Regions from separate parts of the Homo sapiens genome. Here regions 2, 3, 4, 5, 6 and 7 are each linked to region 1. Evidence: promoter capture Hi-C in 16 types of primary human blood cells and fetal thymus (Javierre and others, 2016). All regions are on one chromosome and are shown on one strand. The core of a region is centred on a gene start or on the middle of the fragment in contact, and the rest is flanking DNA. Distances in the headings are between cores, read along the strand shown.

The links. The method cuts DNA at HindIII sites, captures the fragments that hold promoters and counts their contacts. A CHiCAGO score of 5 or more calls a contact.
Region 2: a contact is called between a fragment that was not itself captured here and the fragment with the promoter of NKD1-AS1 in region 1, in 6 of 17 cell types (total CD8 T cells, naive CD8 T cells, naive CD4 T cells and 3 more). The highest score is 6.8, in total CD8 T cells.
Region 3: the fragment with the promoter of TENT4B here is called in contact with the fragment with the promoter of NKD1-AS1 in region 1 in 10 of 17 cell types (monocytes, M1 macrophages, non-activated CD4 T cells and 7 more); the score reaches 8.1 in monocytes.
Region 4: a contact is called between a fragment that was not itself captured here and the fragment with the promoter of NKD1-AS1 in region 1, in 4 of 17 cell types (non-activated CD4 T cells, naive CD4 T cells, neutrophils and 1 more). The highest score is 5.8, in non-activated CD4 T cells.
Region 5: a fragment that was not itself captured here is called in contact with the fragment with the promoter of NKD1-AS1 in region 1 in 11 of 17 cell types (naive CD4 T cells, activated CD4 T cells, non-activated CD4 T cells and 8 more); the score reaches 13.1 in naive CD4 T cells.
Region 6: a fragment that was not itself captured here is called in contact with the fragment with the promoter of NKD1-AS1 in region 1 in 7 of 17 cell types (total CD8 T cells, non-activated CD4 T cells, naive B cells and 4 more); the score reaches 11.6 in total CD8 T cells.
Region 7: a contact is called between a fragment that was not itself captured here and the fragment with the promoter of NKD1-AS1 in region 1, in 4 of 17 cell types (non-activated CD4 T cells, naive CD4 T cells, naive CD8 T cells and 1 more). The highest score is 8.6, in non-activated CD4 T cells.

The regions. Positions count from the first base shown.
Region 1 is chr16:50,611,396-50,615,517 of GRCh38, forward strand. NKD1-AS1 (NKD1 antisense RNA 1) reads right to left here and starts at 2,255. Exons shown (of 3, transcript XR_007065197.1): 1 at 2,196-2,255. All of the region lies in intron 4 of NKD1 (NKD inhibitor of Wnt signaling pathway 1), which reads left to right. The HindIII fragment of the contact is 2,641 bases long and covers 621-3,261 here.
Region 2 is chr16:50,119,953-50,124,074 of GRCh38, forward strand. No RefSeq gene overlaps it. Among named protein-coding and RNA genes, the nearest start is that of TENT4B, 31 kb to the right of the region's middle. RefSeq lists silencers at 1,514-1,603, 1,894-1,953 and an enhancer at 3,178-3,678. The HindIII fragment of the contact is 961 bases long and covers 1,839-2,799 here.
Region 3 is chr16:50,151,459-50,155,580 of GRCh38, forward strand. It overlaps TENT4B (terminal nucleotidyltransferase 4B), which reads left to right and starts at 1,848. Exons shown (of 12, transcript NM_001365324.3): 1 at 1,848-2,801. The coding sequence starts at 2,164. It also overlaps the pseudogene RPL10P14 and the pseudogene LOC124900375. RefSeq lists enhancers at 904-1,861, 3,499-3,548 and silencers at 1,088-1,177, 1,398-1,567, 1,678-1,837, 2,068-2,167, 2,348-2,397 and 1 more. The HindIII fragment of the contact is 13,709 bases long and covers 1-3,796 here.
Region 4 is chr16:50,182,643-50,186,764 of GRCh38, forward strand. The region is part of intron 1 of TENT4B (terminal nucleotidyltransferase 4B); the gene reads left to right. Among named protein-coding and RNA genes, the nearest start is that of TENT4B, 31 kb to the left of the region's middle. RefSeq lists enhancers at 1,335-1,897, 1,898-2,459. The HindIII fragment of the contact is 4,375 bases long and covers 78-4,122 here.
Region 5 is chr16:50,207,646-50,211,767 of GRCh38, forward strand. TENT4B (terminal nucleotidyltransferase 4B) reads left to right here. Exons shown (of 12, transcript NM_001365324.3): 2 at 3,678-3,801. Among named protein-coding and RNA genes, the nearest start is that of TENT4B, 56 kb to the left of the region's middle. RefSeq lists silencers at 793-1,087, 2,933-3,227 and an enhancer at 2,357-2,416. The HindIII fragment of the contact is 1,336 bases long and covers 1,699-3,034 here.
Region 6 is chr16:50,230,069-50,234,190 of GRCh38, forward strand. It overlaps TENT4B (terminal nucleotidyltransferase 4B), which reads left to right. Exons shown (of 12, transcript NM_001365324.3): 12 at 1-4,122. Among named protein-coding and RNA genes, the nearest start is that of ADCY7, 34 kb to the right of the region's middle. The HindIII fragment of the contact is 5,078 bases long and covers 1-4,122 here.
Region 7 is chr16:50,259,664-50,263,785 of GRCh38, forward strand. It overlaps a transcript of ADCY7 not described here. Among named protein-coding and RNA genes, the nearest start is that of ADCY7, 4.8 kb to the right of the region's middle. RefSeq lists an enhancer at 2,482-2,551. The HindIII fragment of the contact is 2,147 bases long and covers 1,199-3,345 here.

The DNA.
Region 1 (4,122 bases), core at 1,005-3,504:
CACTGAAGTCAGGCAGCCCCTCCTCCTCGGGACCAGGCCCAGGCCTCCCAGCTTCCAGGGCAGGCCTTGCTTTGGCCCTGCTGCCCTCTCCCCACTGGCCTGGCGTGCGCATGTGGCAGCCCGTGGGGTGGTCTCTGCTTCCTCAGCCCAAGGGTGGATGTGCCTGGAGTTGGTGGTTCTGCCCAGCAGGGAGCAGTGTTAAGACTGAGGCCTGGTGGGGGCTGAGCAGCACTCGGGGAGCTCGGGGCCTGTTCAGCTCTGCAATGGTCCCTAACTTTGCCTTCCTCATCTCTCCTCCCTTGATTCTGACTTCCTGTGAATTCGCAGCTCAGACCCCATTCCAGCCTGGCTTACCCACACTCACTGTGTGACCTTGGGTGAGTCACTTCCCTGTGGCTCAACTTCCTCACTGGGTTCCTTGTAGCACTTCTTTGCCAGGGTTATTGTGAAGACAATGAGGTGATGGATGTAGGTCGCAAGGGTGGCCCTGGTACAGAGTAAGTGCCCAGCACACTTGAGCTGCCATGATTCTTGTTTCCTGGGTTCAGTTTTCTTGAAGAGGTGTCAGCCCGTGTTTATAATCATTTACCTAGCCCAGATCAAAGAGGACCTCTTTGCAAAGCTTCTTTAATCCTGTTAGAATCTCCAAAGGCCTCCCCGTACTCCTGGTGCCTGGAGTAGGGTCTGGCATGCTGTATGTGCTCAATAAATAAACACTCACTGAAGAAGGAAAGTCAATACCCTGTAGTCACTGAAAGCAGGTGACCTCTCCCTCTGCCTCACTGAAAGCAGGTGACCCCTCCCTCCGGCCTCTCAGGCAGGACCTGTGTACCTGTGTTGGGGCCTGGGCCAGTCTGTCCAGGCTCCCAGGGGTCAGATGTTGGGCAAAGGAACTTGGGAGGCCTGTACTTCCTTTCATCTGTAGTTGGAAAACTGAAGCCCAGAGAGGGAAGTGACCTGTCCAGGGTCACACAGCAGACTGAGAACAGAATCTGGCCCCTCACTCCTCACCATTCAGTATGTGCTGGGCATTTGCTGCAGCTAGGGGCTCTGCTGGGCCCTGGGTTCACAGGCACGAGCAAGGTAGGCAGGCCCAGCAGTCACGACATTCACAGGAGGGAGGCAGGGATGAATACATAAATCTGCGAAGGAGCATGGAAGTTTCTAGTAGTGGTTCTCTGCTAAGACGTAAAACCCAGGGAGAGGTAGAGTGAGGAGGCTTTTCTGAGAAGGTGATGTTTCAGCTGAGATGCAGATGCCAGGAAGGAGCCAGCCATGGAAGAATGTAGGGGGAGAGCAGCTATGAGTGAGCAGAACCCCAGAGTGGAGGGAACTTGGTGTTTGGGGAAGAACAAAAAGGAGGCCGATGTGGCATCAGGAATGAGAGTGGGGTGGTCGGCAAGTGTGGGACCACGCCCTTAGGTTGCGTGGTTCTGCCCAGATGGTTGGGTGGGTGACTGCTGGATTCTGACCTCTGTTTTAAGAAGTTAATTCTGGCTTCTGGGAGGGACTGCCCATGGGCAGGGAGGAAGAGGGCAATGAAACCAGGAGGTGACTGCAGGGTCGCAGGCGAGAGGAGATGGTGCTGGCCTAGCCTGGGAGCTTGGGGCTGGGGAGAGGTCCATGGGGCTGGAGGTTGGAGCTGGTGAGAAGGGGGTTGAGGGAACGAGAGAGATCAGGGATGCATCTTAGACTTTTGGTTTCAGGAACTAAGGATTTGGCGGTGTCACTTCTGAGGTGGAGGTTTTGGCGGGTGACCATCAAGCCTCCCGTTTTTGGACCAGTTGGGTTCAAGATGCCCATTTAACATCCAAGGAGAGGTACCGAGGAGGCCGTGGGATACCTGGTGATTGGAGCTTGGGGTTCAAGGAGCAGTTGGGCAAGAAACAGAGAGAGAGAGCGAGTCAAGACTTCTCAGGAAGTAGCCACGGACATTGCCCGGGACTCTCGGGCAAGGCTCCTCAATACACAGGGCTGGCGGTGGCTTCCCAGGAAGGCTGGGAGGAAGAGGAGTTCATGGGAAGGCAGCAGGGACCCCCAGATGGAGGGGCAGGTGCCCATGCCCCGCCGGCTCCTCTCCCTCAGTTCAGAGCCTGTCCTGTCGGGGGGTGTCAGCGGCCCTGACTCTCCACTCCCCTACAGTCCCCCCAGAAGCTGAGTTGCAGCGGTGACAGAGAACAAGCGGACTTTGTTACCTTGGCAGTTTCTCTCAAGTCTGCTCCTCATAAAAGCTCAGCTGGAACAGTGGAAATTCTGACTTGTGTCAGATACCGGAGAGGCTTTAATAGTTTCAAGTAGCTCGGGGTTAGATTGTAAAAGCCGAATTTCATCACATGTTTTAACTTGGGTGGGGGCGGGCGGGGGAGAGTGGAAGGGACGTGATATTTTTAGCCCACAGAAGGCTTTTTCTCCCCTTTCCCCTTCTCTCCCGGGGCTTCCCCCTCCCTCCCTGAACAGATGTTTCGTCTCAATCCTGTTCAGATGTCAAAGCCGAGTGGCCACCAGCCTTATGCTCTGATGAGGAAAAAAAGGCCAGAATGTTATTTGTTGAGAAGGATTTCCTCCCCTACCCGCTTTTCCCCCTTTTTTGTTTCCCCTCAGTTACAATTGGTCCATAAGCAAAATCTAGTGGCAGTAAAATGCAGCTGGGAGGCAGGATGGTGGAGAAGAAGTCCCTGGTGGCATTTCTGGTCTCAGGAAGGGGCAGACACCCACAGGTGAAAAAGCTGGAAATCACCCTAGAGGGACTGCCCTGGGTGAGTGAATTACTGCTGTGGTGCTGGTGCTGGTGGTTTTTCCTAAAAAGCAGGATCTCAGAGAGACGGATTTGTTAAGTCAGGATTCTTTCGGTTCTTTTGGAAACTCACTTAAACTTTTGGCTCATGAAATTGAAAAATCCTAGGGTAGATCTTGCCTAAAAAGGCCTGTTTGGATTCTGGAGCTAAAACCATGTCATGGACACATGCACGCACACACACACACTCACACACACACGTATACTCACACATTCACACACATGTCTCGCTCGCTGCCCCTCTCTCTCCCTCTCCATCATCTCTCCCTCTGTCCCCTGGTGGCTTCTCCCCCACAGGGGGCAAGGGTGGCAGTTCCCAGCTCTGGGCACTCCCATCCTATGAGCACAGCCCTGTCAGGTGGAAGAAAGTTCCCAGGTCACAGGGGTTCTTGCACATGTTGGACTCACTTTATTGACCACTTTACTGGTCACTTGACCAGGGTAGATCTAGGTTTTATGGGACCTGAAGCTTTCTGGGGCCAAACCAAAATAAATATCTCACCAACTCAGTCTCTCCTTAGCTCATGTCCAGAAATGCCTGTATTTCCCCTAGTATCACCTCACACAGGCAAAGGATGTCAGAATGGTTAGATGACAATCTTAATAGATTGAGGATAAAATGCCTAATTTGGAAAATGTTACAAATACAAACACATATGACCACATAAACACCTTGCAAAGACCCATCCTGACTTGGAAAGGGCCCGTGTAGGTGAGAGGGCCCAGAAGCCTAGCTTCATTAGCTTCTTCATAAACTCTTCTTTCATACTGACCTAGGACCAGCCACGTGGCCTTCAGGATGAAACAAGCTGGGTCAGGTAGGGGTACTGAGTGCAGTGTGACCCTGGAGTGGGATCAGTCTCCATAAACTAGATAGACTGAGAGTGGGGGATGAGTAGCTCTGGGGAGGAAAGCCAGATGCTATCATCAGAAGGAGGAGAAGGATTGCTGGACAGGCAGGAACAGGTGTCAGCTATTGTGGTCTGAGAGAGTGGACAGGCCAGTGGTTGAGGAGTTGGGAAACTGGGATTTAGTTCTCTTTGTTCCACAACTTCTGGGTTCAAATCCTGGTTCTGCTACTTACCGTTGTTTCATTTTGATGATGCTGCTGATGATGCAGCACCTATAGTGTGATAGACACTGCACTATAGACATATATATCTCAGGGTATAGATATTGGGCTGATGGAAGATTCTGATGATTAAATGAGTGATATAATGATGGTGTAATAAGGCTCACTGAGCAGGGAAGCCTAACCTAGCCCTGAGGGTGTGACAGCATGCTGCTCAGAGGAAGGGAGGCTTAAACTGAAGACCTGAAGGATGAGT
Region 2 (4,122 bases), core at 1,069-3,568, 490 kb before region 1:
TTCTTTCCTCCTTCTCATCACTTGGGAATCTGAGGATGTGGCACCAGGATTCTCTGCTCCAGGAACACCAATTTCCCCACTTGAGTTACCCATCCTTTGTGTCTCTTCTCCAGGAGCTCGCACTCCAACCAATTAAGAAAAGATTTGGCTACAATGACACATTGGCTGGAAGACACACCCACAAACCCATGGACCACCGGACTGTGAGTAACAGTCCTTACTTATGCCTCCTTGCACCCCAGTGTTAAATATTGGTAGAATGAATAAATGAATGAATGAATGAAAGGCAAAGACAGCTATTTAGTCAAGTACCCAGATATTTCTTGAAAAGGATGTTATTGTGGCCAAGAGGCTGTGTGCCACCTTATTTATTTATGTATGTCACCCAGACTGGAATGCAGTGGTGCAATAATAGCTCACTGCAGCCTCTAACTCCTGGCCTCAAGTGATCCTTCCAGCTTGACCTCCCAAAGCTCTGGGATTACCAGGTGTGAGCTTTGCCTGGCCTAAGCATAACTTTTGATCTTCATAGGATCCAAAGTCATGAACTTGTAGCCACGTTGACAACTTGTCCGGCTTGAACAGATTGAATAATCAAGCAGACGTAGCCATAGTGTCACCTGTGAGAAACTGCAATATTTTATAGCTGCTTTGTTTGTTTTTTTGAGATGGAGTTTCACTATGTTGCCCAGGGTGGTCTTGAACTTCCTGGACTCAAGCAATCCTCTCGCCTCAGCCTCCTGAGTGGCTGGAACTATAGGGACTCACCACTGTGCTAGGCAAAATTGTAATGTCTTACAGACACATACACACACACAAAAAAAACTAATTATGATTTAAAAAGCTAGACAGAGATAATATCTTATAACTCAAGGTTTTTCAGCCATCAACACATAGATGTTGATTAATCATTCAACATTAATTATGGTTGTGTTTTTCAGGTCCTGTTTTAGAACTTTGAACAGGTCAATAATCTTGTATTGCTGTGGTCACAGTCCCTTGCTAATTACTGAAGGTAAATAAGATGTGATCACAAGAAACAGTCCACTCACTGTGTCTCACATATTCTCTATAGCCCTAAGAGAAATGACTTCCATTATATTTTAAGTTGGTTATATTGGCTAGTTTCTTTCTTTTTTCTTTTTTTTTTTGGAGATGGAGTCTTGCTCTGTCGCCCAGGCTGGAGTGCAGTAGCACGATCTTGGCTCACTGCAACCTCCTCCTCCCAGGTTCAAGCAATTCTCCAGCCTCAGCCTCCTGAGTAGCTGAGATTATAGGTGCCCACCACCACACCTGGCTAACTTTTGTATTTTTAGTAGAGACAGGGTTTCACCATGTTGTCCAGGCTGGTCTCGTTCTCCTGACCTCAAGTGATCCATCTGCCTTGGCCTCCCAAAGTGCTGGGGTTACAGGTGTGAGTCATCGCACCCAGCTATATTGGCTAGTTTCAAAACAGATCAGGGGCTATCCATTTGAAACCGTCCCACTAACATGATATGACAAGGTTTGTAAGTGATAAGCTTGGCAGCTTCGATTTCTGGCACAAGGTGTGTGGCCTCCCAGAGCTCTAGCCTGTCCTCTCTGACTCAGTTTTTCTTGCTCTGTAATGGGTTCTGTCCATTTGTCAGCCTGCAGATTTTCAGCTGGATTTTTTTTTCATGTCAGCCAAATAAATACAGAAATTGCTCCCCCCACCCTGATTATAATCATTTTGGCCACATTTTTCAAAGCTTACTCTTAGACCATCCCAAAACTCCAGGGTAACTCCATATTATTATTCAAATTTTTTCTCAAATTAAATGTCTGTTAGGCTGGTTACACAATCACAATAAGGGAAAAGCTTGGCCCTTTCATTTTGCATTTTACCTCAGAGAAGGTCCTTGTGGCTTGACTTTGCACATTACTGGAAACAGAATTTGCCTTTCTGCTCCTTTGTGAGGTAGTCAAAGCACGATGTGCATGTGGTTCCAAACACATTTAATTCTGTAGCTATTCTTTTGTTGAAGGCGCTCACCACAAAACATCCTGGAGGGGGATTACGGGGCAGGTGCAACAGACAAGGGTGTTTCCCGGATGGGGAAGGCAGAGCGCCAAGTAAAGGAGTAAGTGCTGAAGAAGGGATTTTACTTGAAATTGGAAGTCATAGGAGCTATTTGGTTTTGGGGGTGCATGTTTAAGTGATACATTTATAGATTAAAAACGAAATTCAGGCCATGTGCTGTGGCTCACACCTGTAATCCAGTACCTGCAGAGCCCCTCCTGCCTTGGCCTCCCCCAGAAAAACAAAGAATTTCAGAGTCAATAGCACGTTATGTTTTGACTACATCACAAAGAAGCAGAAAAGGGCCAGGCACCGTGTCTCACGCCTGTAGTCCCAGCACTTTAGGAGGCTGAGGCAGGCCGATCTTTTGCGTTCAGGAGCTCAAGACCAGCCTGGCCAACGTGGTGAAACCTCGTCTCTACTGAAAATACAAAAAAATTAATCGGGCATGGTGGCATGCACCTGTAGTCCCAGATACTTAGGATGCTGAGACAGGAGGATAGTTCGAACCCAAGAGACAGAGGTTGCAGTGGGTTGAGGTTGTGCCACTGTACTCCAGCCTGGGTGACAGAGTGAGTCTCCATCTCAAAAAAAACCCCCAAAACAAACAAATGACAACAACAAAAGCAGCAGAAAGGTAAATTCTTATTTTCCTCTTTTAAAAAAATTTCCTTTGTTTTAGGAATTCTTTTTCCAGACATGTGTCAAGCCAAGCCATGAGGGCCTTTTCCAAGGTAAAATGCAAAACAAGCGGGCCAAGCTTTTCCCTTATTTTTCCCTCCTTGCCTAGGAGTTTGAGACCAGCCTGGGCAACAGAGCAAGACCTCGTCCCTACAAAAAAATGAAAAAAAAGAAAACAAAAACAAAAACAAGTGGCTGGGTGCAGTGGCTCATGCCTGTAATCCCAGCACTTTGGGAAGCCGAGGTGGGCAGATCACGAGGTCAGGAGATCGAGACCATCCTGGCTAACACGGTGAAACCCCATCTCTACTAAAAATACAAAAACAATTAGCCAGGCATGGTGGCAGGCGCCTGTAGTCCCAGCTACTTGGGAGGCTGAGGCAGGAGAATGGCGTGAACCCAGGAGGTGGAGCTTGCAGTGAGCCGAGATGGTGCCACTGCACTCCAGCCTGGGCGAAAGAGCGAGACTCCGTCTCAAAAAAACAACAAAAAAAAGTAGCTGGATGTGGTGGTGCTTGCCTGTAGTCCCAGCTACTCAAGAGGCTGAGGTGGGAGGATTGCCTGGGTCCAGGAATTGGAGGCTGCTGTGAGCCATGATCACACCATTGCAGATCCAGCCTGGGTGACAGAGCGAGACCCTGTCTCAAATAAATAAATAAATAAATAACAGTTCAGAAGAGTATAAAGTGAAAGTCTCAATTTTTCATGGATTTCTTATGCTCTAGTTTTCCTCCCCTGGTCTTCTGTTACTTCCATGTATACCCTTCTAGAGATAGACGATGTGTATGCACATAGACAGGGCACTCTTATGACTGGTAACATATTATAACATTGGCCCACTTTGTTTGCTATTTTGCTTTTCTGTAACAATATACTCATTCAACAAATATTTATTAAGTACCTAATGTATGCTTGAATCCTGTCCTATGTACTCAGGATAGAGCAATGAACAAACCAATCAATATTAGTTTTCTATTGCTGTGTAACAAATTGTTGCAAATGCAGCAGTTTAAAGAAACACATTTAGTCTCTCTCAGTTTTTGTGGGTCTAGAGTCCATGCACTGTTTCCTTGAGTTATCTGTTTCAGGTTCTTGCCAGGCTGCAATCAAGCTATCAACAGTGCTGTGTTCTCATCTGGAGACTCAACTGGAGAAGAATTTGCTTCTAAGCCCACTCCAGTGGTTAGTGGACTTCATTTTCTTGTAGGAATAGGATGGAGAGCTTTGGATTTTTACCAGCTGTTGGCCAGAGGTCCTCAGTTCCTGGAGGCTGCCCCTGTGCAGTTGACAAGCAGCAGCTTGCTTCAGGCCAGGCCAGCAGAAGAAAGCATATCTGCTAGCAAGACGGAAGTCTTATTGGCTGGGCGCAGTGGCTCATGCCTGTAATCCCAGCACTTTGG
Region 3 (4,122 bases), core at 598-3,097, 460 kb before region 1:
GCCCTGAGCAGGGATTCAATCACATGCTCCTTATTCTGCAGCTTGTTGCAGATGGACATGATAACTTGGCCAATGTGAACCCTGGCCACAGTGCCCTGGAGCTTTTCAAAGGCACCTCGAATATCTGCCTGGAGCCTACATTGGCGTAGTGCAAGGTCAAAGACATGAACATACATCTGAAAGGCCTGTCTCCATGGTCCCTTAGAGCAGCCCATACAAGAAACAGGCTGCATAAACTACCAAGGAAGCTGTTGTTTGCAGCTGAAGGGTCTTTGTGTGTTTTCCGTATTTCTGGTCGTGCTATTTATTCTCTTACCAAAAAAAAAAAAAAAAGTAAGGTCAGGCGTGGTGGCTCACCCCCTTGTAATCCCAGCAGTTTTGGAGTCTGAGGTAGGAGGATCGCTTAAGTCCAGGAGTTCCAGACCAGCCTGGGCAGCGCAGAGCAACTTCGTCTCTATGCCATGTTGACGCGTGCCTATAGTCCTAGCTACTCGGAGGCTGGGGCAAGAGGATCGCTTGAACCCAAGAGGCCGAGCCTGCAGTGAGCTGTGAATGAGTCACTGAACTCCAGATGACAGAGCAAGAGTTAGTCTCGAAAGAAAGAAAAAGGTAGAGCGACACTTAGTTCTTTGATAGTTTTCCACTATTTGTCATAAAAACTTTCCAGGATATTGAGCTCCCAAAATGGAAGGCCAATATCAGGCATCAGGGACTTGTTCTGGACGTTGGACCAACCTTAAAGGGCCCACATAGAAGCTGTTCACTTACTTTCTTTTAGTCTCTTGATTTAAAATACTTAACATTCCCCTTTCCTTGGCTTTTTAACCACTGAGATTTGAAAGACATGCAAATAACGACCTAGTGGACAATCTTTGCTGATGCTAAATCTTCATTTTAGGATTAAAAGGTTTTGGGTTTTCTTAAAATTTAATGCTGAACTCAGAAGAGCTTTCTAAGGCTGTTGGTGCACCTTAGGGCAGGAGAGCGTCTTTGCTACGCCGCGCAGGAGTGTGTCTGCTTCTCTGTGCATCTACACGTGTTTGCGTGTCCCTGTAAAGTGGGTTGAGTGTGCGGCTGCGGCTTTCCGCCCTTGGCTCACACTCTCAGTCTTAGTGGTCTCCCCCAGGGCTATGCATGGGGTACAGGTTTCTGTGGCCTCAGGCCGGGGTGAGGGGTCCCCCACCCCGGCCAGGGCGCAGCAGGGCGGGGCACACGTAGCCGTGCAGGGTCTCGCGCAGCCCGCGTCAGGACCCCGGGGCACACGCTCGGGCAGGGGGCGTGTCCCCACGCCACCAGAAAAAGTGTTATAGGCTGTTTTTTTTTTTTTTTTTTTTTTTAAAAAGAAAGTGTTTTAGAAAGCAGGCAGAAGCCAAGACGTCAGGAAGGGTTGCGAGGGCCCGGGATCCGGCGGCCACAGGGATGGGAGGGGCGAGGAGCGAGGGGCGGAGTGGCACCTCCCACAACGCGCTCCCTGCGGGGCGGGCGGCAACCTCCATGCGGCCTCGTCCACGCTCAGCACCGGGGAAGCCGAGGCGGAGAAGCCGCGCGCGCCTCAGAAGCTCCCGGACGCCCAGGTACGTGGGAGCACTCCACAGATGGCGCAAGTACGGTTGGGCCAGGCGGTTGCGGCCCCGTCGCGCCGCGGCCTCTGTGACGCACGGCGAGGCCTCCCGGGCTGCTGCGCGGCGCAGCGGGGGCGGGGCGAGCGCGTGAGGGCGGGGCGGTGGGGGGGGGGGGCGGAGCGAGAGGGGCGGAGCCGGCAGAGGCCCCGCCCCGGGGCCGGAGGAGCGAGGACGCTACGGAGCAGGCGCGTCTCGCTGCCGCCGCTGCCGCCGCCGCCGCTCGCTCTTCTGTGGAGCCGCCGCCGCCGCCGCCGCCATTTGCACGGGGACCCCAGTGACAGGGGCTCGGCGGAGGGGCGGAGGGGCGGAGGGAGGGGGGGAGGGCCCGCGGAGCCCCCGAGGGCGGGAGCGACGCCGCCGGCGCCGGCCGGGCTCCCTGCGCGACCGCGCCGCCCGCGGCGGGCCCCGAGCAGCAGCAGCAGCAGCAGCGGCAGCAGCGGCAGCAGCAGCAGCAGCCGAGGCCGGGCGTGCGCCTGAGGCGGCGGCGGCGGCGGCCCTGCGGGCGGCCGGGAGGGGCGGGGGCAGCGGCCGCCGCCGTTTGATGGATCCGAGGATCGCCTGGTTTCAGCCAGAGCAGCTCGGACCGTCCAACAGTCTGTGGATGCAGATCTGGGAGACGACCCAGGGGCTGAGGAACCTCTACTTCAACCACCACTGTCACAGCAGCGGCGGCGCGAGCGGCGGCGGCGGCAGCAGCAGCAGCAGCAGCACGGCCACCGGCGGGAGCGGCAGCAGCACCGGCAGCCCCGGCGGCGCGGCCTCGGCCCCGGCCCCGGCCCCGGCCGGCATGTATCGCTCCGGGGAGCGCCTGCTGGGCAGCCACGCGCTGCCCGCGGAGCAGCGGGACTTCCTGCCCCTAGAGACGACCAACAACAACAACAACCACCACCAGCCCGGGGCCTGGGCCCGCCGGGCGGGCTCCTCGGCGTCCTCGCCTCCCTCGGCGTCCTCGTCCCCGCACCCTTCGGCCGCCGTCCCCGCCGCCGATCCAGCCGATTCGGCCTCGGGCAGCAGCAACAAGAGGAAGCGCGACAACAAGGCCAGCACGTATGGACTCAACTACAGCCTGCTGCAGCCCAGCGGAGGGCGGGCCGCGGGGGGCGGCCGAGCAGACGGCGGCGGGGTCGTGTACAGCGGGACCCCGTGGAAACGGAGGAACTACAACCAGGGAGTCGTGGGGTGAGTGCTGGCTCTGCGGCCCGATGGCCTGGCCGGTGCGAATGCGCAGCCGGGCACACGCCCACAGAGGGGGGTTGTGAGGGTCTAGGAGCGGCCACCCCCACGGCCTGCCTTCGCTGCTGTTGCACGGGGGTGCTGCTGGCCATCCCCAACCCCCCAGTCGTTCACACCTTTCCCCAAGCCTCCTTAGCCGTCCACACCCTCCGTCTCCTGTCCTCCCTTAGTCGTCCACACCTTCCTCCCCTCCCTCTTAACCGTCCACACCTTCCCCAGGCCCCCCCCTTTATCCATTCACTCTCCTCCCATCCCCCTTAGTTAAACACATCTACCCTTGACCACCACCCCGCCTCCAGCCCTCCACACCTTTTTCCCCATCATCACAACTCAAGATGAGACCGCTTAGCACGGGCCTATCATTCATTCCCTGAGAACATTGGTGTGTGAGTGTTTTTTGATGGTGCAGGACCCGGAGGTGCTTTCCTTGCCAAGAATAGAAACATCCAGAATGCTCCTCCCCATCCCCCAATCCCAGACAGCAATTATGTCAGCCCTGTAAGGCATTGCCTGCTCTTGACCCTTTGGCCCATCTTTTTATTTTTAAAAAATTCCCATGTCACAGATGCCCTGTCTATGCAGAGGGTGGCGTGGGATGGGTGACCACTAAGTTTAGGCTGGTGAAGGTGGTGAGCCCTTCTGAGGCCCTGATAGAACTTTCCAGGAGTTCATGGTCCGCGGCTCCAGCTTCTCACTGTAAAGTTGTCATCCTGGCAGAGGCAGCCAATGCTTTTCATTCTAGGGGGTAGAGATTTATGCTAATGAGTGAATATTGCACCACTAGTGACTTTCTGTTTAAAGTTCAGCTCTTAGAAAATGGAATCTTACCTGACCCCTAGTGAATTATGTACATAAGCAGGGAATGTTTCCAACTAGATCTCCCTTCAGAAGAGTCCCTGTGCTGGAATAGGTCACTGAATCTTATTTGTTTTGTAAAACAAAGCTTTTGGGTCTCGTGGGTGTGTGTGTGTGTGTGTGTGTGTGTGTGTGTGTGTGTGTAGCTTGAGTATGGAGAACCGGCTTTCAAATTGCTTTTCATTTTTCAGGTTGTGTTTTACATTGAGGGCTTTAGCATGCAAATGAAATTACCAATTAGTAATCCCATGTGAACCTTTTCCTGGATTTATTCATTCAGATCTGCCCTGCTTTGGCTGAGAGAGAGAGTTCTGTGTACCTTTTTGAAGGTCTGGATAAAATGAGTTGGTGGGTTCCATCTGCTTCCAGTGGGCTGGTGTCTGCTCTATGCTACTATTACAACTCCTACCTT
Region 4 (4,122 bases), core at 1,015-3,514, 430 kb before region 1:
CAAGGTTTACTTAAGCATTCTCTTATTCTTGGACATCTAAATTGCTTCTTATTTTCTATTGTAAATAAAGTGCTAGAAGCTTCTTTCCTGAAAAGTTATTTACTTTTCACCTAGTATTTCCATCTGTGTTCCTCAAAATAAGATTGCTGAGATTCATGTATGTTGCCAGAAAGATTGTGAGGTTTAACAGTGAATGAGGAAAACTTTTAACACTCAAGGTCTACCAAGTACAGCAAGTTTTATTTTACCTTTTTTTTTTTTTTTTTTTTTTTTTTTTTTTGAGTTAGGCCAAGTTGCCTAGGCTGGGCTCAAGCAATCCTTCTGCCTCAGCCTCCGGAGTAGCTGGGATTATAGGTGTGCAGCACCACACCCGGCTTTCTTGTATTTTTTTTTTATTTTTATTTATTTATTTATTTTTGAGATGGAGTTTCACTCTTGTCACCCAGGCTGGAGTGCAATGGCCCAATCTCGACTCACCGCAACCTCTGCCTCCCAGGTTCAAGCGATTCTTCTGCCTCAGCCTCCCAAGTAGCTGGGATTACAGGCATGTGCCACCACACCCGGCTAATTTTTCTATTTTTAGTAGAGACGGGGTTCCTCCATGTTGGTCAGGCTGGTCTCAAACTCCCGACCTCAGGTGATCCACCCACCTGAGCCTCCCAAAGTGCTGGGATTACAGGTGTGAGCCACCGTGCCTGGCTGCTTTCTTGTATTTTATCTTGCTGTAGCGGTTGTGGGATTTTTGCCTGGTGTGTTCATTGGAGTGTGTGTGTGTGTTTTGAGATGTATGACTGTGTTGGTTGTGTTGTCATACTTTGAAGGTTCATTAATGTGCTGGTCTTTCTATTTTTCTTGTTATACTTAGTCACTTAAAAACCCTTTTTTTTTTTTTTTTGGAATTCTTATTTTTACAGTACTTTGAATTCCTGTTTTATTAATCACCTTCTTATCTGAAAGTGAAGTAATAGTGTACTTGGCACCATTGAATTAGAAAATTGTGTGTCCTTGGCCAGAAGATCACATACACAGGAACTCGATAAGTTGAGAGATTTAGCCGTTTCAGAAATGGGCATTTGTGTCTTCCAGTGGAGAAGCATCTGCAAAAGAATTGGGCAGATTTGGCCAGGCGCGGTAGCTCATGCCTGTAATCCCAGCACTTTGGGAGGCCGAGGTGGGCAGATCACCTGAGGTCAGGAGTTTGAGACCAGCCTGGCCAACATGGTGAAACCCCGTCTCTACTAAAAATACAAAATTAGCCAGGCGTGGTGGCTAACCCATTTAAAGTGGGTGAATTATATCTTTTATGTTTTAATGTATTCCTAGAGTTGTGCAACCATCACCAGAATAAGTTGTAGAACATTTTCATCAACCCAAAAAGAAACTTTGTATTCATTAGTCGTTCCTCCTCATTTCTCCCCTAACCTCCCAGCACTAGGCAACCATCAGAATACTTTTTGTCTCCACGGATTTGACTGTTTTGGACATTTCATATTAATGGAATGCACAATACAGTAGTATAATACATTAATTTTGGAAGGCCAAAATTAATGGCTTTTGATGTCTGCCTTTTTTCACTTAGAATAATGTCTTCCAGGTCCATCTGTGTTATAGCATGTATCATTACTTTATCCTTTATGTGGCTGGGTAATATTCCATTGTATGGTTATACCATGTTTTGTTTATCTATTCATCAGTTGATGGACATTTAGGTTGTTTTCCATTGACTATTAAGAGTAATGCTGCCGGCCGGGCGCGGTGGCTCACGCCTGTAATCCCAGCACTTTGGGAGGCTGAGGCGGGTGGATACGAGGGTCAGGAGATCGAGACCATCCTGGCTAACACGGTGAAACCCCGTCTCTACTAAAAAACAAAAAATTAGCCGGGCGTGGTGGCGGGCGCCTATAGTCCCAGCTACGCAGGAGGCTGAGGCAGGAGAATGGCGTAAACCCGGGAGGCGGAGCTGGCAGTGAGCCGAGATGGCGCCACTGCACTCCAGCCTGGGCGACAGAGCGAGACTCCATCTCAAAAAGAAAAAAAAAAGAGAATAATGCTGCCATCATGCTTGAGGGTTTTTTTTTATTTTGTTTTGTTTTGTTTGTGGGGGGAGCGGAGGGCACAGTCTCACTCTGTTACGCAGGCTGGAGTGTAGTAGGCTTACTGCAGCCTCCTCCGCCCCCTGGTTCTAGTGATTCTTGTGCCTCAGGCTCCTGAGTATCATGCTGCAATTTTTGTGTGAGCATACATTTTTCATTTCTCTTGGGTCAATATCTAGGAGTATCCCCACTTTTGGTTCTGAGTGTTAATTGAGCCTGTTGTGTTCTCACATTCCCTGTACTTAGATGGAAATAGTGCTTTGCCTAAAAAGAAAATAAAAGACCTGATTGTGCAGGCGAGTGAGAAAGAGAGAGAGGCGCTAGGGTTATTTCCACCCTGATACTCTTTGGGTAGTCTTGGTATGACTAGCAAAGAAGCAAGCTCCAAGTTGTAGTTTGCTTCCAAGTTTCTGGCTTCTGTGGGAATTTCTGCATCTAAGTAATGACAATTTTCAGTTACTTGCAGTAAGTAAATTATCAACCAATCTTACTGTGTATTACTAGCCTAGTAGGAATTTACTTGTATATCGAGAGGAATGCTGCAGCTTTCACCTTACTTCTAATGGGGATTAATGCTTACTTAACTTGCAGTTTTGGAGGCAAGTACAAAGTACAGGACCAATTATGGTCATGAAGTGAGAGAGAAGTCTGGCTAGTGAATGGTGATTGGCAACTCCAGTTGACTGTTCATGGCATCTTAGATCTGTGAGGAGGGAGGAGGGAAGGAAAGTTCAAGCTGGTCTTTATGGTAAGTTCTGGAACATTTCCCTGTGTCAATGGGTCATCTGTTCATTCACTGTGTAAAATGGTTGAGGGAAGTTTTAATTTACATGCTTCCTTATTGTGTAAACCTTTGATTTTTAGTGATTTCAGAGTTTGTTTTTATAATTACTTAACACGTGAAGAGGATGCAGAGTAACGTATCGAAGCTCTGGTTACCTTCCACTGGGATTTGACACATTTGATTTCCTTTATTCCCTCCTTCCTTCCCTTCCTCCCTCTCTCTTTTCTTAAGGAATGCAACTACTCAGATTCACCTGCACACCCTTGGCATACCTCTCACTCCCCCTTACCCCCACTTCCTCAGAGGTGACCTGTCCTCAGAGGCAAATGTGTGCCCTTTCCATCCGTACTTTTATGCTCTCATCTATGTTTACATCTATTAGTACACTATTGTCTGTATTTTTAAACATTACATAAATGGTGTAATTTTTACTTTTAATTCTGTAGTGGTGTTTCTCAAATTAAGTTCTGCACAAAACATTTTTATAGATATCCAGTGTTAGCTTAACGTTTTTCTTATTGTGGTAAAATATACATAAGATAAAATTTACCATTTTAGCCATTTTTAAGTTTACAAGTCAGTGGCATTAAGTACATTCACAGTGTTGTATAACCATCACCATTGTCCATTGCCAGAACTTTTCATCATCCTAAACAGAAACTCTGTACTCATTAAACAATAGTTTATCACTCCTTCCCTGCAACTAGATGCTGGCAATCACCATTCTACTTTCTATCTCTATCAATTTGCCTCTTCCATCTAAGTGGAATCCTACATATTTGTCGCTTTGTTTCTGGCTTTTTTTTCTTCTTGTGATGCTTTGTTTTAATTATGTTCCTGGCTTTCATCATCTAGCAGGCTGATTCCAAGGTTTGTCCATGTGGTAGCTTGTATCACTTTAATGTTTTTAGAGATAGTTAATATTACATTGTTTATATATACCACATTTTGTTTTTTCATTCAACCTTGATGGACATTTGAATTGTTTCCCCCTTTACCTGTTGTGAATAATGCTGCCGTGAACATTGATAACCAAATATTTGTTTGAATCTCTGATTTCAGTTCTTTTGGTTCCATACCTAGGAGTGGAATTGCTGGATCATATGATAATTCTATGTTTAACTCTTTGAGGGATGGCCAGACTTTTCCACCATAGCTAAATCATTTTACCTTCCCACAAGCAAAGTTCAAGGGCTCCAGTCTCTCCCCATAAGGTCCTTTGCACTTTTTTTTTTGAGACGGAAT
Region 5 (4,122 bases), core at 1,117-3,616, 400 kb before region 1:
GGCATGTGTCATCCAGCAATACCTACTCATAAATCATATTAAATTTTGATCCAAACATGGGAGAAACTGAAGTTTTCTCTGTGTACTTGGATGCTTTCAGAGGCATAAAATTATATTACCATGTGAAAGCAAGCCTACAAAATTCCTCAGGTGGTCCACTCTGCCACTCAAATGAGAGCCAGACTTACAGTGCACACTCTACAAACGGACTTCCAGCTCGTCAGGGTATTTTAAGTGCCTGAATATGCAAGGCACTGTGCCAGTAAAATTACTCAGTCCTGAGGATAGAGCCTGTTAGAATTATTTTAAAATCTGTACTTGAAGTTTATTTCCTCAGTATTCCAAGATATTTTATCTGGTTGTTCTCTGAGTATTTCACACGTAGCTAGTTACATATAGGTGAGATGGTGATGCTTGTGCCTGGTGTGGATGAGAAACTGAGCCTGGCAGACCCGAGATTGGATTTCCTCTTCTGACTTTGCAAGTGTGGCTTTGCTTTAATAATAGCCCTCCTCTTTTTCTGTATTCCTCTTTTCTCCTTCCAGTGTGGCAAATATGCATCAATCAAAATACAATAACCTGTGGAACCATTTTTTCTAAAATAGGAAGGTGGTGCCATGGGCTATTGATTGTTGAGGGTAGTCTTCAGAGCCTGTCTTATAAATCTATAATAATTCCCCCCAAATTAATGTGCTAGTTAGAACCCTAGAATTGCAGCACTGAAAGTGAATTTTAGAATCTTTTCCAACTTTTTACCAAGCTCAGAAAGCCCTTTTATTGGACCTTTGTTTGCCTCATGGTCATCTGGTTTCTTTATGCTGGTAGTAACAGGAACCTTACTAACCTACAAGGTGACCCAGTCCATCCTGGGCAGCTGTGATCATTGGAAAGCTCTGAATCATTCATCTGGAAGCTGCCTGTGGCAGAATAGTACAGAACATATGCATTGCACACACTACAAAACTGCTTTAAATAAGTGTTCCTTTTCATTGTTAGATGGAAGTGACCCAGGGCAAGGATCATGTTTTATGAGCCAGTTTTCTCCTAGTGCCTTGAACATAGGCACTTGGTAGTGTTTAGAGAATGAATTGTCTTTTTTTTTTTTGAGACAAAGTCTCACTCCATTGCCCAGGCTGGATTGCAGTGGCACGGTGTCAGCTCACTGCAGCCTCCACCTCCCAAGTTGAAGTGATTTTTGTGCCTCATCCTCCCGAGGAGCTGGAATTACAGGCATGCGCCACCACACCCAGCTAATTTTTATATTTTTAGTAGAGATGGGGTTTTGCGTGTTGGCCAGATGGTCTCCAACTCCTGGCCTCAGGCGATCTGCCTGCCTCAGCCTCCCAAAGTGCTGGGATTACAGGCGTGAGCCACTGCGCCTGGCCAGAGAATGAATTCTTAATAAGTTTCTTATGACTTCAGATTGACTGGCAGTTGTGCTAAATATTTTTTGCCTTTATTTGAATTAGAAAATTCGTAAGGGGGCCTTGAGAGTAGATGCAGTCACATTTAGGAGATTTTTCCCCCCCATTGGTTAAAATGCAGTTTTTCTATGGATCTGCTTTAGAACTACAAATAAACTCCGATCACTCACAGCAGACTACGCAATGAGATAAGAAGCAGTCCATTTGTTCTGTCGTTTATTCATGGCCCTCATCTTTGCCAGCCAACCTGTGCAGAAGAGCACAGCAAAGCATAAGCTTCCTAACAGCTATTCCCATTCAGCTGCTGTCTTCAAGAAGCAGAAGGGTTTAGATAACCTTAGAGAACATAATCAAACCTGGGAAACTCAAATCAAAACAAAACTTCGAAACGGAAGTTGAAGGTCCTGAGGTACCCAGAGGCATAGCAAGGAAAACGTCCCCACTGGGATATCTTCTGGATTCACCTACAGACCTCTCTGGAGTTTTAAGATCCACGTTTTATGACATATTGCATAGCAAACAGGCCGAACGCTGTTGTAAATCATCCTCTACGAAAGGCCCAGGTTTTGAAACTGAAGGCCTGAAAAGGCTCCTGCTTACCAGCTGTGTGCTGTACCTGACACACTGAAGCCTGAGAGTGCCAGTCACCTGTCAGAGGGAACACAGCTGCCCTCAGGCAGAACCTGAGTCTAGAACTCAAGGTTTTTGACTCTTAGGCTAAAAATAAAAAATCAGAAGGAGGAACTATGGATTGCTTAATCAGTCACATTTTCACTTTCTAAGGTTTCTTGTAGCAAAAGTTATAGTCTTTGGGGATTGGGATGTAGACACTTTTTTTTCCTTCCCTAAAACAATTTTTGGCCTGCCAGTTTTTCGAGCTTCCTGCTCTGGACCCTGAAGTTGCCATGCAGTTGCAGACATGCTCCTCCTTCAAGGCTCTGTTAAGCTGTGGCTGCCCTTCCTTACCACTGCTGTGCCCCAGGCCAAACCCCCTGCCCCTCCTTCCCCTAAGGCACTTTGCACCTGTTGCTCCGAGCCTTCTGGTCTATCCCAGTTGGTAGAGTCCCTGTGCTTACCTCTGTGGCTCAGTCCTCGTGGGTGGTCAGTGCTCTAGGGAAGGTGAGCTGACCACTTCACTTTCCCTTCCCAGCCATAGCTCTTCACAGCCTCACCAACTTAGAAAGGAATGCTGCTTTTCTCTCTGTCCCCCGTCCTGACTATGTTCAAGTCATTGCTCAGCCCAGTGAGTTTGTCCTTTCTTCCAGACCAGTAGTTTTCCCCCAGTCCCTCAGGCTTCAGCCCTTGAAGGCATCCTTAGCCCCCCACCACCATGATAGTCAGGCGCTGCGCCTATCCGCAGGGTGTGGGTATGTGTGTGTCTTTTGTTTCTGGAGCCCATTCCTTTCCTTCCACCAGCCTCTAGGCCTTCATCCAATCCTTTTGCAACTCAGTGATTCATGACTTTTCCCTGCATCCAGTCTAGTCTCTTTGCTGGTCCATTGTTTCCATAGTTGCCAGTTTAATCTTCTTAAAATGCTGCATTTTTGAAGTCAGTCTCTTTTGGTCCCTCTCAGAAACATTTAAATAGCTATCTGTTGCCACAGGGGGAAAGCTTGAACCTCTTAGCCAGTCATTCAGAGCCTGCCCTCTGCTGGGGCCTGCTTTCCTCTACAGATGCTTCTCCCACTCTGCCTGCCACAGCCCTTGTAGCTGGCTGATTGCCCTGTACCTCGCAGGCTCTGGAAGTCTTCAGCTCCTTCATGGAGCCTTTGCCAGCCATTCTTTTCAAGACTTTGCTGTTGTTCACTGCCTGATTTGTTCATTTGACACTTAATTCACTGAGCAAACATTATGAAAGATGTACTGTTTGCTACTGTGAGGAATGGATCCCCAAGAGATAAGAGGGTCAGTCCCTACTGCCAGGAAACTTGCCTGTGTCACCTGGGTTCAGTATCTTGTGTCTATTAGATCAGAAGTGGAAAGGCAGAGGCCAGCCCGTATGCTTGTTTTATTTTATTTAAATCACCAGCACCCCAGCAAGTGTTTTGCACAGGAAATTTCTCATTATTTAATTATTTTGGGTTTTTTGATTAAATTCTGTACATTCCCATTTTAGCTTATCTTGAGTTATAACATTAAAATTAAGGTAGTCATCAGCTGAATTATAAGACTTAATTAGATAAGATTATTTAAGATAGTGATTTCTCATTAGATTGGCCCTGTTCATATTAACTTTTCTGTTTTTTTCTTCAGTCTGCATGAAGAAATCAGTGATTTTTATGAATACATGTCTCCAAGACCTGAGGAGGAGAAGATGCGGATGGAGGTGGTGAACAGGATCGAGAGTGTAATTAAGGAGCTCTGGCCCAGCGCTGACGTGAGTCCCTTCCTGGGTAGCTTATGCTTCGGACAGTCCTTGTCCACGGGCTAGAAGCCTATCTGCTGGTATCTCATGCTAGTCCTCACATGCAAGTAGAAGTGCTCTGTAGAGTTGTGGTCTAATTAAATTTTAAAGGCAAACAATTTTCTGCAGTCTTTAGAATTGAGGCTTCCTAACTATTTTCATTGGATTGGATGACTAACAACTATTTTTTTTTTGTAGTGCTAATAGCAACTACTAAAGGCAAGCTATCCTTAGAAATTATTAGTGTAAAGAGAAGAAAGACAAATCAAACCTCATTGTTGTAGTGGTCTGTTA
Region 6 (4,122 bases), core at 825-3,324, 380 kb before region 1:
TCCTCTCTAAAGAAAAGGTTTATGGTGGCAAATGATGTTTATTTTATTTTGTAAAAAAAAAAAAATGTACTATGTACTTTTGTGTAAACACTGAAAAATCTCTGGTCATCTCCGAGAATTAACTTGCAACTGTTTTCTATAGTGCTGTCGTCTTGGGCAATGGGCAATTACATGACTTTGTGTTTGCTTCCTTTGCAGTCTTTTTTTTTTCCCCCCATTTCTTCCTAATAGGAAAAAAAAAAAAAAAAAGGTCACCCATGTCTGGTCTCATTCCTGTTGCAGTGAAACTTCGAGTTCCACAGACTTTGCATGCTGGCTTCTCTAACCCTGTGTGCTGCGTGTGCCTGTTTCTCATCTCTTATTCTTTTTAAAATTCATGCTTAACTACTGTGGGAGAATAACTGTAAACAGCTTTAATTAAATCATACTTATAAAAAACTATTTTCTTATATTCCACTCTATGCTTTTGGTATTGTTGATCTTTACAAATTAAATGGTCTTTGATAATGGATCTATTTTGTATTGCCTTATTAAGACCAAATACTTCTTGTCATCCCATTCTTTATCCTCTTCTTTCATGGAATTGTTATCGTTAATTAAAACTTTTTTAAACATTGGCTTGTTTCAATCATACTGTAAATTTTGGTTGTAGTCAGCTTTGAGTGCAATGAGATGTATAATTCTGTTATCATTACCTGTTGAGTTTGAAACTCAGTTGGGAATATTTAATATAATAGAATGTAAGTGACATTTCTGAAAATGCTTTCTTTCAGGGTGAAAGCTCTTATGTTTAGCATCAATGTGTATGGCTCTGTTAAATGCAGCCATTTCTGAGACGAGATTCTTTTATATATATATACATATAAAGTACTATTGGCTTTTAGGAGTTTCTTTTATATACATTTATGAAATACTGAAGACCAATCAGACCATTAATGGACACTTAGTGTAACTTTTTATAAAGAAAATAATGCTAAAGTAAGACCAAAACTGATGTCATCACTGAAATTAACAATTTTCAATATGTTCATATTTTAATTCACAATGGAAAAATGTGTTCCAAAACTGGAAACTCATAGTACTCGTGTAAACTGTGGAAGATTTCAAATGTGATGTTATTTTGACAATGTTTTAAATTTTAGAGTCACATTTTATTCTGATCAGAATTTTTATTGAGATGTTGAGCTTTTGTTTTTGAAACTAGTTTGTCATAACATTGTGCATAATCACAGTATTTATTTTCTAGGACAATTGTGAATGTGTAGACTTATGTTTACTGCTAAGGGAACAATTATTTATAAAATAATATTAAATCCAGTATTAGCTGCCTATTTCAGACACTTAATACTTGCAGAGATCTATGTTACATTTACCACACTGAAGTTTTTTTTGTTGTTTTTTGTTTGTTTTTAAAGAATCACCCTCATTGTTGAAAGTAAATGTACTCTTAGGGTGCGAATATTAGTGTTCCAATAAGCATGTGATTATATTAAGGTGGTGGTAGCGGGAAGATAATTCTGATTCCATTGGGAATCTTAGGTTTTCGTAAATTTATTGGGAAAATAGTTTTTCCTGTACTGCTGAAGTTTCTTTTTGGTAAACAGTATCTTTCTAAAAGAAAAAAGCATGAAGGAGAAATTGAGGTGTGTATACATTTCCTCAAATGACCAGCATTGTATTCGTGAATACTGTGTATCTTGCAGTGAACAGTGTGGAAGCTGTTCATTTTTCAATCTGAAGTAAAATACTTTCAAGAACTTTTAGTTTGCCTGCTCATTTGTTTTATACATTTCATCTATTTGACTCCTATCTTATTTCTTTTTTGAGTTTTAATACTTCCTATATTTTGTGAATATATCAGAAATGTGTCATTTATATATTAGAGTCCATTCATATCCATGAATCATAACCTTCCTTTGCTAATACTTGTTGAATGGGATTTTACAAATTCTCCCTCACTCTGGTGACATTTCTCAGGCAGTCATGTATGTGTACCTGGCCATTAGAAATATTAATATTTAAAGACTGTTTTTTAGAGGAGCTGATGGGTTGGTGAGGTGTCAGCACAAAATCTTACTGGTTATGTTTTGATGATAAAAGTATATCCATTTTTTCCCTCCAGCTTTAAGGTGACTGTGAAGGTGCCTGGTTTTGAATGTCTTTGTTTGGTTTGGAGATGTCGCACTCAGTTTTCAAATCTAGCTTGGATCTGTAGGACCTATGTTTTTTACAAGTAATTGCCCTCCAGTCTTCAACAGTTGATTCTGTTTTATTTTTATCCTGTTTTGAGTGTACTTTACCTTTACTTGCATTTTGAGCCTCATTAATATTTAGGTTATTTGATTTGGCTCCAGATATTCCTAGATCTGCACAGGGCAAAACATGGGCTATAGGGTGAGCATTTTTAATTGTCTTTTTCTGCTGGAACCTTATATCTCTCCATGTGTTTTCTGCTCCTTCCCTCCCCCATGAAATGGTAAGTGTGACTTGTGTTTGCCTGAACCTGTGGACTAGTGTTTGGGGTTTCTGGAAACACTAGAGGGTCAGAAAAGAGTAATGACCACCGTGACGTGCAGGATTCTCTTGCTGTGACATGTTCATTGCAAAGCCCTCTCCAGTGACTAGGAGGTGTAGTTATTAAGGTTGATCTGTTAGAAATCACCATTATTAGGTATTAGTGGTAGATGTTGCTGATACTTTTATTGGTCATGACTACATCTCAGTTTTACTTTAATATTGATCTATAGTTTGATCAGTTCCTTGAATTCTAATATGTTGATTTCTCAGTGTTTCTGTCACTAACCAAGAATGTTTCTAGGCAGTTGGTTGCTTCACAGTCAAAACTAAATGGTAAACTATCAAAAATACATTCCCAATTTTGCTGTGATAAATATTGAAATGTTAAAATTAATGAACAGAAGAATTTATTCTTACCCATCTATTCTTGTTCTCCTAGTTCATTAAACTTTCAGTTATTGGAAAGGCACATTCTCAAAGTATTTTATGAGCAAAATATTCTATAAATGCGTCTAACAAACCTAATTGAATATAAAAGTTATATTTAGTAGTTACTGTTGATAGTAATTTTCATCAGGGTCATAGTTCATCTAGTAAAATATTTAGAGAATGATGTTAACATTCCAGCATTAAAGTGGGAACAAAGATTTATATATGAAATTCCTTAAAAGAGTTCATCTTGCCTTGGTTTCTGACCCTCAAGACTCTAGCTACCTGCCATCTTGTCAAAACATTTGTGGGTAGAATAAGTGTTAAAGATCAAATTTTAATATGCTTCTCGATATTTAACATAGCTAAGAAGCCAGATTTTACTGTAGAAGTTATTTACATGATTTGAAAACTTGACCTAACTGGAAGCCTTTTTCTCAGTCATCTTGTTCTAAGCCATCTTGACTTCACACCCTTAGCGACTTTTCTTTTTTTTTTGGTCAAAGATAATGAGCTAAATATATATAGACGTTGAATGTTGACAAAATTATTAACCAGAAAAATTGCTTATAAAGGCTGCTGATCTATTTGATACCTAGAATTAAATATTTGAGGACAGTTTTTAGTTAATAAACTGCTAATGTTTATTTTACTGTCTCTCAGGTTTTTGGTTTTTTTAAAAAAAATGTGTTTGGCCTTTACATTTTCTACTTAAGTGTGTACTTTATTGAGTTTAACCTTGTCTGTAGCCTAGTAGCCTGAAAGAAAAGGAGACAGAACCAGAGAGATGGATGTAGTGCATTCCCTTTGGTTATTACACATTTGTGGTAGCTCCTGGATTTACTGAGAGATATTTTAGCTATGTCAATAAGAACAGCTAATGATGTGGAAATCAGGTGTTCTCTTGTGTATTTCAGTGAACATTTTTATTAGTAGTTGCATATCATCTCTAGTTCCACATTTTAACTTAACGTCTTTGTGGCTTCACCACTGAGCTACCTTTCACTACACCAGCTTCTGTGTGGCCTGGTAACATGGAAGGTCTCTCCTAAGGACAGTCTGGACGTATTTTGGGGGAATGTTATTTATCTTAAAGATGCCTAGAAACAAAACGCATATAGTACCAGTGAGAAACTATGAAGTAAACAAGTTGCTCAGGCCGGGCATGGTGGCTCA
Region 7 (4,122 bases), core at 1,022-3,521, 350 kb before region 1:
GGAACTCAGCCAAGCAGCAGCGATTTAGGAGGGGCAGTAGCCGCAGGGTGCCGGGTTTAATGGGAAAGATGCTGTTTACTTAGAATATGTGTTCATTTGGAGTGGCTTTGGGGCTTACCCCAGGCCACCCCTTAGGACCACCACTGATTAGGGGTCAGAAGGCGCTAGTGGACCCGGGCATTTTCTTATGTTCCTAGCCTGCACAGGAACAGATCCCTGCACATCCCTGAGCCCACAGCTGAGAAGAGATGTGGGCAGAGGCCTGGAGGAGGTGGGTGGATGCACTGGAATGTTCCCCGCCTCCCAGCGTGAAAGATGCATCTGGGAGGAGGGGGAGTGTCTCCATCGAGCTGTGCTGCCTCTGCGAGTCCCTCTCCCTGGGGAGCTCACCTCAGTCCCAAGTGTGGAAGAGCTGGGGGGCGTGAAACCACACGGAGTCAGCCCTGCTCTGTCCTCCCACGTAGGGTGAGCAGGAGGGGACGCTCACACGGCTGGCTGCACTGTGTTATTGTTGGGAGTATCTGGGTACAGGTCAATCTGGCAGAAATGTCGTGAGGTCCTGTGGTGCTGGGGAGAGGTGGTCCTTGCCCTCAGCCAGATGGGTCTGATGGAGGAGAAGACAGGACCTTCAGTCACTCCTGAGCAGGGAGGGTGCTGCATGAATAAGTTCAGGTTCTTTGAGCTGCAAGTACCAGAAACCCACTGTAACCAAAGGGAAAGGGAGAAAGAGAGGACTTGAGACTTTGTGGGGATTCAGGCATGGCTGGATCCAGGGGCTCAAATGGTATCATGAAGACTCTGCTTCTCTCTCCATTTCTCTGTCTTGGCTTCCTTTTCAGGCCAGTTCTTCCACAGAGAGGTTGTATTTGTAATCTATTGCTGTGTAACAAATTATTCCAATTACCTCATAATTTCTGTAGGTCAGGAGTTCAGGCTGAGCTGGGTGCTTCTGGCTGGGGTTCTCTGATGAGGTTGCAATCAAGCTGCCTGTCAAGCTGCAGTCATCTGAAGGCTTGACTGGGGCTGGAGGGTCTGCCTCCAAGGCAGCTTTGTCACATGCAGGGTGGGTTGGTGCTGGCTGCTGGCGGGAGGCCTCCGTTCCTCGAACACAGATCCCTCCTTGGGGCTGCTTGAGTGTCCTCGAGCCATGGTGTCTGGCTTCCCCTAGAGGGAGAGATCCAAAGGAAAGCTGAGTGGAAGCTTCTGAGATCTTTCATGATCTCAGAAGCCGCATATTGTGGTTTCCACGATATTTTATTGGTCACACAGGTGGTGTGGGAGGGGACCATTCACAGACATGAGTGCCAGGGGACAAGGGTCACTGGAGGCTGACTGCCACTGTGGCAAAGATGGCCCCAGTGGCTCGTAGCTCACACCTACTGCCAAGTGAATGAGAACACTTTCCCACAGTCCCAACAAAAGTCCTGGAAGTGAATTTCACAGGACCACCTGAGTCTCACACCCATTCCTCCATATACGCTAGTTGTGAGTCCACCCCTGCAGGGCTGGTTCCCCATAGGAACAGGGAGCTGTTACCAAAAGTGGACATGACATCCTCTGTGGAGAGGTCTATGGCATTGTGGCCTAGAGGAGGTGATGGTGGGGCACTGGGGAAGGCTTCCTGGTAGAGGCGGCACCAGTACCTGGCGGGATGGGTAGCATTTTGAGCATTCCAGGGACACTAAGGCCTGAGCAAAGAAATGGAAGAGTCAGGCAGCTGGGTAGCAGGTGGAGGCAGATAAGGATGGAAAAGTGAGTTGGGCCAGGTGGGGGTCCCCGAGAGGCAGGAGGAGGAGGCAGGACTTGCCTCTGGAGGCACAGGCAAGCCATGGAAGTTGTTTGAAGGAGGGGCAGGCACGTCGCAGAGCCTAGGGATTTAGGGTTTAGAGCGGGGAGAACGCCTGGCTGGCCTCCTCCCTGCTGGCTTGCACCCAGCACCCACCATGTGCCTTGTCGGCATTTCTCACAGCCCCCCACGGGCTCCCAGCAGAGTGGGCCACATCTCCTGACTTTACAGAGGGACTCCCTGAGCCACCAGGGTCCCCTAGCTCCGCCAAAGTCTCTCCCTGGAGCCCCTGACTCCAGAGCTCTCAGACAGGAATAATAGCAGGACCTTCCTGAAGGCTCCTCTTCATCCTGCCAGGACGATAGGCGAGGTTGGCGACAAGTGGCCAGCCCAATTGCTCAGACCCTCCCAGGGCTCCTCCCGGTGCCGTGAACCCCCGACCTTAGGGGAAGGAAGAGGTGACTGTGGCATGGACGGTGGTTTTTGTTCTCATATCCCCTGGCCCCTACAGAGACGTGCCCAGAGTTCCAAGCCCACTGGGTGCTGGGGCTTTCCTTCCCCCAGTAAGGGCTCGACATCTAGGTTTGTGTGGCAGGGCCAAGCTGTTTGCTCAGCACTCAGTGTTATTTGTCCCTTGGCTGACTGACAGCTTGACTGTCTGCTTCGTTTTGGCTGCAGTTTGAGTCTCTCCTACTGACTGTTTCATGGCCTCATCTTGAGCCCCCATTGTTGCCCAGGGTAGGAAGTCCTTCTCCCCTAAACTCTGGGCCACATATGCCTGGACCCTGCTGGGTACTTCTCCTCAGATCTCTTTTTTTTTTTTTTTGAGACAGGGTCTCACTTTGTCACCCAGGCTGGAGTGCAGTGGTGTGATCTCAGCTTACTGCAACCTTTGCTTCCTAGGCTCAAGCGATCCTCCCACCTCAGCCTCCCGAGTAGCTGGGATTCAGGTGCCCGCCACAATGCCTGGCTAATTTTTGTATTCCTCCCACCTCAGCCTCCTGCGTAGCTGGGATTCAGGCGCCTGCCCTCAAGCCCGGCTAATTTTTGTATTTTTATTAGAGACGGGGTTTCACCATGTTGGCCAGGCTGGTCTCGAACTCCTGGCCTCAAGTGATCCACCCTCCTCAGCCTCCCAAAGTACTGGGATTACAGGTGTGAGCCACCATGCCCTGCCGGCTTCTCCCCAGAGCTTTATGCCATGCCTTTGATGGGCACCTCTTACCTCCTCCCAGCCTAGGAACTTGCATGAAAGGGAACTATGTCCAAGTCAGTTTTGTGTCCCTAGCACCAGGGAAGAGGATGGGGGTTGCTGAGAGGGACAGGAAAGGATTGGGGTTGTGCTGTGTGCCCTGGCGCCTCTACCAAGCAGAAACCAGCCTTCCCTGTCTGCTACTGTGAAAGCCCAAGGTTGCCCTTCTTTGGGGGAGTTGAAAGAAAGCGGGTGTTTGTTCAGCACACTTGGGAGCACTGTGTGCCAGGGCTGGGAGATCTTGGGTGAGGGTACTCACCATGCTCATTACCTTGTAATGGGGTTAGGGGTAGCCTGTCCCTATGGAAGCTTGTCCTTGTTCCCAGGGAGGGTCAGGAGCATGGGTTGTGAAGTCAGGTAGATCTGAGCTTGAATCCTGGCTCTGCCTTTTCATAGCTGTGTGTGCTTGGGCCAGCAATGTGGTGTCTCTGAGCCTTGGTGCCTTATTCTACAGAGGGATGATAGCAGGGCCTTCCTCAGTGGGGCTGCCAGGGAGTGCCATGAGGCTGTGTGTGTAAAGTCCTGGGTGATGCCTGTGTGGATCCCAGGGAGCATTGACCTGTGTGTGCTCAGATCCTGCCTGCCGGGACCTCCTAGACAGCGTGAGGGGTGGGGTGTCAAGTGGTGGCTGGTGGCTGCGGCTGCGGGGAGCAGCTGGTTTGAGGCAGTGCTGAGGCTGCAGCAGGGAAGAGACTCACCGCCACATCTTCCAAGGAGAAAGCTGGGCGGGCAGCCTGGGAGGGCAGGAGGTATTGCTCAGTGGGACAGGAACCTTGATTATCAAACGGCAGGGTTTACTGTGCCCCTCTCATTATCAAACTGCAGGGTTTGTTATCATACAGCCTCTGCTGTATGGCCAGTTTATCTTCACACACTCCCTGCTCTATGGCCGGTGCTGGAAAGCCCAGGGCCCCATAAGCTCCCAGCAGGCAGTGGGGAACCCCCCTCCTGTGTCCAGGCATCTACATGTGTCCTCTCCAAGCTGCCCCTTTTCTCAAGCCGAGATCATCTTGCAGAAATGTTGGTCAGGGTGGGTCGCTCCCCACCTGCCATTCCCCTGGACTTGCCCTGCCTCCTATGCCCC